2 separate regions of the Homo sapiens genome follow, and region 2 is linked to region 1. Evidence: promoter capture Hi-C in human tissues and cell types (Jung and others, 2019). All regions are on one chromosome and are shown on one strand. Each heading gives the region's core, a stretch centred on a gene start or on the middle of the fragment in contact. The rest is flanking DNA. Distances are from core to core; before and after follow the strand shown. Region 1 holds the start of NR6A1 (nuclear receptor subfamily 6 group A member 1). Region 2 overlaps NR6A1 (nuclear receptor subfamily 6 group A member 1).

What was found. The method cuts DNA at HindIII sites, captures the fragments that hold promoters and counts their contacts. A contact is called where the count stands out against the background at its distance.
Region 2: a fragment that was not itself captured here is called in contact with the fragment with the promoter of NR6A1 in region 1 in 2 of the 25 tissues and cell types used here (IMR-90 fibroblasts and dorsolateral prefrontal cortex).

What each region holds. Positions count from the first base shown.
Region 1 is chr9:124,769,124-124,773,362 of GRCh38, forward strand. It overlaps NR6A1 (nuclear receptor subfamily 6 group A member 1), which reads right to left and starts at 2,188. Exons shown (of 10, transcript NM_033334.4): 1 at 1,897-2,188. The coding sequence starts at 1,996. LOC124900274 (a long non-coding RNA gene) reads right to left here and starts at 1,357. Exons shown (of 2, transcript XR_007061773.1): 1 at 1-1,357. It overlaps LOC107987126 (a long non-coding RNA gene), which reads left to right and starts at 2,234. Exons shown (of 2, transcript XR_001746926.3): 1 at 2,234-2,650; 2 at 3,579-4,239. RefSeq lists silencers at 888-1,137, 1,678-2,257 and enhancers at 1,970-2,537, 2,328-2,587. The HindIII fragment of the contact is 6,332 bases long and covers 1-4,239 here.
Region 2 is chr9:124,673,628-124,677,866 of GRCh38, forward strand. All of the region lies in intron 2 of NR6A1 (nuclear receptor subfamily 6 group A member 1), which reads right to left. All of the region lies in intron 1 of MIR181A2HG (MIR181A2 host gene), which reads left to right. Among named protein-coding and RNA genes, the nearest start is that of MIR181A2, 17 kb to the right of the region's middle. The HindIII fragment of the contact is 3,220 bases long and covers 732-3,951 here.

The DNA.
Region 1 (4,239 bases), core at 938-3,437:
GGATTCCAGCTTCCCCCTTTGTGACACGGAATTTTATTGATCTCAAACATGTTCACATTCAGAAATTAGTTGCCAACGACAGCCCACGGAACGGCCAGCCACCTAGCCATCATACATCATACACAAATTAAAAAAAAAAAAAAAAGAGCTCTGAAAACACATCATTATTTTTAAGATCAGCAACATCAAGTGAAGTTAACCAAGCTCTCTTCTACACGGACTTTTCCCTTTTGTAAAAAACACCAGATCTCCTGAACTAACAAAATGTTTGACTAGTTAATAAACGTATGAAGGCACGGATCCAACCCAAGATTTCCACCGTCTGTAGCTACTCACTCATTCAACAATTGAGCGCCTAACTGACCTATTTTCAGGTTACTTTCCTCACACCTGCCAGGTCACTGTCCTGATTGAGAAACCTCTTGGTGAAGCAGTTAATTTTTAGTGCCTCCTAACTGTCCCGGGTGTTTGCATTCAATTTGAAATCTGTTACTTGTTAGACACTGTTCGGTCCTAGATCTCTCAGAGAACTGCGAGTTTATGGCGCAGCGAGGGGAGGAGGCACTGATCTCTGAGAGCCTCCCTTTATTCGGAAATGAGGAGATGTGAAAGGTGGAAAACAGGGCAAATAAATAAATCGGGTTTGCCGCCGGAGCGTTTGCCGGCCGGTGCGAGCACCCTTTGTAATGCAGGCCTCCCGGGGCGATCGCCTGCGCTAATTGCTCCAGGGCGCTTTCCAAGTTCAAAAGTTCACCTTTTACGACCTCACAAAAGCTCCTAACACGTTACCAATAAAAACATTCCGCGGCAAACACCGAGGAGGAAAATATCAAACAGATACAAATAAAACACCCCGCAGGGGGAGGGAGCGAAGGGGAGGAGGGCGAGGAAGCCCCGAGGAACCTGAGGACCCGGCCCGGGCGAGGGGGCGAGGGACGAGCGGTAGGAAGGGCCGGGCCAGGTGAGGGATTCTCAGCTCCCAAGGTCCCGGATCGGGACAAGAAAGAGGAGAACTGAGACTAAGAGGTGGGGACCGGGACCTGCCGGGCAGAAGCCGGGAGGAGGCAGGTGTCCGGGGCCCCGGGGCGGGCTGGAGCCCTCGGCCAGGGAAAGCCGTTGCCTGGCGGAGAGGGGAGCTGAGCAGGGGCGGAGACCGGCCAGAGCGCGCGGGGCGTTGAGGAAGGTGAGGCGCAGGGGAAGCAGGAGGCGCGAAGGGGTCCGAAAAAGGAAACGACTGGGGGATGTCTAGCGAACGGGGGTTCGGCAGAGGTGGGGGGCTCGTAGTATTCAAGGAAGAACGCTCGAGGCTGCAGAAGAGGAAAACGCTCTAGAAAGCTGAGCGGTACAAGGGTGCTGTGGAGTCGGGTCAACAGGGCAAGAAGGGAGCGTCCTCGGTGGGAGGAGGAACCCCTGTAGGGGAAAAGAGAGGCTCTGCGTTAAGGGAACCCGAGTGAGGGGATGCCCCCACTGACGGACCGCGGTGGGGACTTCCAACCTGAGGAGCCCGGGGGGAGGGGAAGGTTCGGTGCTGGGAAGACAGGGGGAGGGGACCCGGGGGGAGGAGGGAGGATTGGTGCTGAGGGGACGGGGGGAGGGGAAGCCTGTGCAGAGGGGACGGGGGGAGGGGGAAATGAAGCTCGGTGCCCAGGGACCCGGGCAGGGGGAGGGTCCGCGCAGAAGGGAACAGGGACGAAGGAGGAGGATCCACCCTGAGCGAGACCGGGGAGGAGAGGGAGGGTCCGCGCCAACGGGGAACGGGGTGAAGGGCCACCCTAAGGGGCCGCGGGGCCGCTGCGGCTTCCCAGGGCGAGGGTCGGCAGAGAGGAGGGGGATCCCTGGCGGAGGCTCAGGAAGCCGGTTCCTGCCTGGCCCGGGCGTCGCAGGCCCCTCACCCACCGTTGCGCGGCGGCGGAGGGAGCGCGGCGGGAGGCTCCAGGAACCCCGCCGAGCCCCCGCCGCCTCCCCCTCCGCTAGGCGGCGGTTCGTCCCGCTCCATGCGGTGGTGCCTAGGGTCCGCGCCGGGTTTGTTGCTCCGCCATGACCGGCGCCCTAGTCGCCGTGGTCGTCGTCCGCCGAGGGGAGGAGGTTGTCAGGAGCCCGCGAGCTCCCGGCCGCGGCTCTCTCTGGGCCCCGAGCCGCCCGGCTCCGCGCCGCTCCGCGCCCCTCCGCGCCGCGCCCCCTCAGCACTGGCCAGCTCCCTCCCCTGACGTCACACGCCGCTGCCGCGCAAGGCCCTGCGGGGCACGCTGGAAGTTGGAGTCCGCTCAGCGAGGCCGGCCACGCCGACCGCACCAACTGAAGGGGTGGAAGGAGGGATAAGAAGTCCTGAGAAGGGAAAGCTAAAGTCTGTCAATATCAAGAACCATGACAAAGCGTTTGATGTCTATGTAGTAAGCGGATACTTCCGGGCCTTGTCTTGATTGTGATTTCTACCTGATCAAAGTTCCCTAAGAGTCCTCGTAACCCCCCACCCCAACAATGAGTCTTTGCGAGGAGGTGGATCGCGAGGCAGCCGGGTGAGCACGTGCAACGAAGCCCAGCCCTGTGGGCGGGGCCCTGGAGGCGGGGCTTGAAGGTACTCACGTGGGCCTCTCCCTGCCGCTGCGGGACAAATTGGACCGGAGATTAAAGGACCGGAGTTTAACTCGAGGTGACTGCGTTCGTATGCAAATGGAATATATAAAACTCTTCTTTCCGGGGTAGTCTTTAAAGACTTTTTACCTCCGGGTGGGCGGCAAAGACTAAAGTTTCCCCTCCTCCCCTTTCATTTTCCCCCTGCCCATAGAACAGATGGGCAAACTAAGCTCCGGGCCATTGGGGCTATTAAAGAAAGCCCTAGGCTCTTGACCCCAGGTGTCTTGAAACCTTCCGTTTAAGAGGGATCCCTTGCCCAGCCTTGTTTGCCTTCCCCTTTCCTCAGTTTCCCTATCTGTAAAAGGGGGTTGGAATAAGGACAGGATCAAGTTGGAAGATCGCAAACCCCTGCCCCTCCCACCTCAGTTTCCCGAAGCTTTCCGGAAGCAAAATCCCGAATTTTGCAGCGGCTCCCGGCCGAATCCACCCGCTGCGGCCACCAGGTGGCGCGCGGCCACCGGTCACTAGGCCCGCCGGGGTGTCCGTCTTCGGCGACCCCATCGGGAAAGGATTTCGCTGCTGCCGCCAAGGGTCTAAGGCCTACCTGGCCCACTTGAAGACAAAGAACGAGAACGTTGGTGCTTTGCCCACTTCTGCTCTGCCGGATTATGCTGCAGCTTCCTCGGTGGCCGCTCATTCGCCCTCTCCTGCCCCACCCGCCCCACCAATCCCTTAGCCCTTTTATTTTTTTTTTGCCTAATTTTAAGTCCTCGTCCTGGCATTCGCATCCCTGCTTGGCCTGACCCTTGCCCACATTTCGCACCATACCCCGTCCCTCACCTGCTACGAAAGTTGCAACGCTTCTCTGCACTTGGGGGCAACTGGACCTTACCAACCCTGGTGAAACTGTATTTCATACGTAATCTGGGAGACTTACATTAACGCTCTGCCGTCTAAACCTCATACCTGCTCTATGAGATAGCAACAATATTGTCCCTTTCCAGCACTGATGAAGTCCACCAGAAGTGATGGGGATTCCAGCTCCATTCTGTCACACACCAGAACCTTAATCCTTGGCTCCTTCAAGCTGGAACGCGGCTGACTTCACCTGACCCACTCCCAAACTCCTATTCATCTTTCAAGATCCTGTTCAAATGTTTCTTCAGTGGCATCTTCCTTAATACCTTCCACCGAGGGACAACTAGATCCCCTCTGCTAGGTAGCAGTGTTTCAGGAGCTAAACCCTGTGACTAAGAGAGGACGGCCTGCCATTCCCTCAGCTGTGGGTTCTAAAATACTTTAGGACCTTGCTGGGCGCCGTGGTTCATGCCTGTAATCCCCACACTTTGGGAGACTGAGGCGGGCGGATCACCTGAAGTCAGGAGTTCGAGACCAGCCTGACCAATATGGAGAAAACCCGTCTCTACTAAAAATACAAAATTAGCCAGGCGTGGTGGCGCATGCCAGTAATCCCAGCTACTCAGGAGGCTGGGGCAGGAGAATCGTTTGAACCCAGGAGGCGGAGACTGCGGTAAGCCGAGATGGCGCAATTGCACTCCAGCCTGGGCAACAAGAGCAAAACTCCGTCTCAAAAAAAAAAAGAAAGAAAAAAAAAGTCAGGACCATCTGGCCTTTCTCAGGAATCTACCTTTTTGTCACAGGTTC
Region 2 (4,239 bases), core at 1,092-3,591, 95 kb before region 1:
ATCTATAGAGTAATGAATCCTAGGCAAATATAATTAAAGAAAAAAGTTAAAGCTTTCATAAAAGACAAGTTCACTAACTGCATGGTTTCATGAAGACATCAGTTAGACAAAAATCTCCTATTTTCAGACAAGAAGGTCATCTCCGACACCTATCAAATTTCTCTATTGTGAGCGCCTAAAGAAGATAAGCAAGGGCAATAATTAATCAACAAATATACGAGGATTAAGGATGAGGAACAAGATTTGGAACTAGGCTCTGTCCTCTGAGATTCACCTCATTGTTGGAATTTCTAGCTAATTACTATTTTCCATCACATATTAGGTGGTAATTAAGATCTTGGCATCTGTCTTCAAATCTCAGCTCTGTCCCTTCTTAGCTATGTGACCCTCAGCAAACGACTTTTCTCTAGCTTCAGTTTTCTCATTTCCAAAATGAGAATAATCATCCACATAACTACTGTCAACATTAAATGAGGTAATATAAGTAAACCACTTAGTACAATGCCTGACCCATAGTAAGTGCTCCATAAATGTTAGCTGATATTATCATATTATCATCTGTAAAATGGAGACCAATTCACACACCCTTAAGATTGAAAAGAAGTAAAATGACACATACAATGCCTAGGTACACAGGAGGCACTCAAATGGTAGATGTTACCCCTTACACTCTTTGGGAACTCCATATCATTCAGTATCAAACTGAGTATGAAATGGTACAGTGCAGCAATTAACGCTATGAAGCTGGATTTCCTGAGTTCAAATCCTGGCTCTGCCACTTAATACCTGTGTGATCTTGGGCAATTTATTTCCCTTACTGTGTCTTTCTATTTTCATCTGTAAAATGGGAAAAATAATAAGTATCTATCTTACTGGGTTGTTATGGGGATAAGACAAGCCCTCTTTTAAGTGCTTTACATATAAAGTCCTAAAAATAAAACCTGGAACATAAGTGCTATATAAATATTAACTATTATTATCTTAATAACAGAGGTACACATGCTTTGAGGCTGCTGCACATCAAAGAAATGAATTTGGACATAAGCAACTTAATATTTTTCTTGTATTTAAGAGAGGCCCAATGGAAATATTCATATACCCATCTTCAAAAATGGGAGGAAAAAAGGCTGAAGGAATAGCAAATTACAACACAGGAACTATATAACTACTAAGTAAATGTGACCTCATCCATCCAGAAACAGGTATGAAGGAAATGTATTTTCTAGCTCCGCCTTAACCATGTAATCACTCAGATAAAGGAGTCCTACATTCCAGAGAGATAGAGGAAAATGATTTTTCTTGCTCTTACCTTACAACAAACTGATAACCAACACAGCTAACCTTTGTGCGTTCTCACATAATTTTTAAGTGAAGAAAACATCTCTTAGGACAAAATAATCAATTCTGGAAGCTTTCTTAGAAATGCCTTCCTGCCTTATACTAGTCTTTTCTTCCCATACTCCACAAACTTCATCCCTGGGCAAGTCAGAAGAGGTATCTAAAGACGCAAAAATGCAAGCAAGTAAACATTCTTTAGAACTGAAAGGAAATCCTATGCTTGTTCTTACTTAGAAAGTTATGGAGTTAATCCTGTGGACTGGCTTATGTTGCTGACTTACAAAGCAAACAAAATACTAAATTGTATAAGCAACAAATAAAATCAGTGAATTGTAATTTATCTGTCTAAGAGTCTGTGCCTCCTACCAGACTGTAACTTCTCGAAAAAATACTTTATTCATCACCAGCATCTAGCACATTGCCTGGCACACACAGAAGGTGTTCAATAAGTGTTGACTGAATACAGTCAGAGAGCACCTCCTCCTTGTACAAGGTACTGTTAGGTGGCAGACAGCCAATAATGGTTCACTTAGGTTGATGTCAAAGATTTCTGTTTGAAATTTAAATAAAGCCAGGTCTGGCTAAAGAGCTGCAGCTGTAGTTGTACCTGCTCTCAACCCAGATTTATTCCCAATAGCAAGGCTACCCTCTTCTGCATGCCTGCTGATATTTCTCTCAAATGATGAGAAGCCACTTCCCATGTGGCCCTAGTGTGTAATTCTTTCTGCTCAACAAAGGAGGCAGTCTAGAATCTTTGGTCATAAAAATATGATGGTTAGCAACAGGAAGCAACTGCTGGGCAAGCCTGGTACACTTCCAAATGAAATCTTTCCATCTAGAATTCTCAATTGAAGGTGCCAAACTCAATCCAGAACATCTGGATTTGCTCCTCTGGCTTCAAGCGTTCTCCAAGAGAGGCTAGGAAAAAGTACGCTCTTGCCGGTACGTGTAGGTGTAATTGTATACTCAAATATTGTACTTTGGATAAGAGTCCAAGACTTGGCAAATGGATGGAATGTAGCACATGGAACTGCCTGAATAGATACCCACGCTAAGAGAAGGGTTTTCTTGCAAAATATAAACAGGCAAGGTGTGAATTGCCCCTCTGTGTCACAAGTTAGAAGAATTCACCCAGGAGAATAAGTTCTTAGGAATCAGTGGGGGAATAATGCTCAGAAGCATGTGACAGGCAAAACAGCACCATTCCCTAGGAAAACGGCAAATTTATCAAACAATAACTCTTTACTTCTCCTACCCCAATAAGATAAATATATGTGATTATAATTTGATCCATACAGAAAAAAATATTGAGCTGCAAACTCTGGCAAACAGACAGTGCTGAAATTAAACATTATGAGCTTTGGCAGCTGCACTATGTACTCTCAGATTCTTACATCATTACTCTGGTAAGGGCCCCGTACCAAGCTGGCATAGTTCTGATGTGGTCTGGAGGGAGACTTTCTTGCCTTTTATTTAAAAAAAAAAATGACCTACATATAGCCTCTTTTCATGCCACAGGGAAATAAATATTTTCCTTTCCTCCAGATTTTGTTTTAAATGACAAAGCCATACTGCCAAGTTATTAAGAAAGTGTTAGAAATTATTATGAGATTTTTAAAGGCCACTTAGTACAAGCTCTAAAAAGACTTCTAAAACAGTAGACTTCAAAAACAGGATCTCTCCTAAAGTAGTGATAATCCATTTGTGGCAATAAAGAATCAGTTTATAGAGTGATGATTACTTTCTTGTTTATATTCTGACATTGGAAGTTTAAGTATCCAGATCCTCAGTAACCTCAAATGCAAAATGAAATAGTAATGTCACCGTTTGGGACAGTTCTTCTCACAATATCAGATATATGGCAAGTCCTCAGTAAGTACTAGACAAACTTATGAACGATAGAACCTTTAAAATTCGTGACTAGAGCAATCATATACTTAACAGAGCTAAGTGGTTACCTTTACTTCACTCATATTCAAGACTGAAAAGAATTTACACATAAGCTAGTTTCAAGATCAAAACTGCGTTTGTCCCTTTCAACAACTGATACCACACAAACAAGACTTCATTCTCTATTTCCCTCCAGTGGCATCCAAGAAAAACATAAAAATTCCAAATCTCAAAAATAACAGGTTAAAGAAGAAAAAAAAAGGCCTTAGTGCTCATAAACTAGATATATAATTTGACATGTTTAGAGTGATAGGATTATGTTTCCTATCATGAAATATTTCAAATTTTCATATATGGTCAAAATAGTATAGTAACTACCAAGCTTTACTTCCAAATTATTATTACTATTTCCTTTCTTCTGGAGACAGAGTCTCACTTTGTCACGCAGGTTGGAGTGTAGTGGCTTGATCTCAGCTCACTGCAGCCTCAACCTCTCATGTTCAAGTGATCCTCCTGCCTCAGCCCCACAAGTAGCTGGGACTACAGGTGGGCACCACCATACTAGCTAATTTTTGTATTTTTTTGTAGAGACGGGGTTTCATCATGTTGCCCAGGCTAGTCTCAAACTCCTGAGCTCAAGCCATCTATCTGCTTGCTTCAGCCTCCCAAAGTGCTAGGATTACAAGCATGAGCCACTATGCCCAGCCTTATTTTACCTTTTGAGATATAATTTACATATGGTAAGGTAAACAAATCTTAAGTCTGATAAAGTTTTCTCATATGTATTATATATGTTAACTACTATCCAGATCAAAATATGAGCACACATTTATTGCAGCCCACAGGATTCCCTCGTGACCTTTCTCTCCAAAACATACTTATCATTCTAATCTCAGATAGTATTCCTTTCACCACTAATAATCAAATCCAGCCTTTACTTTCCTGTTTTCTTTATAGTTTGCCAATGTCTATTTCAATCATAAGTATTTTGGCTACAGTGACCCCATGAAA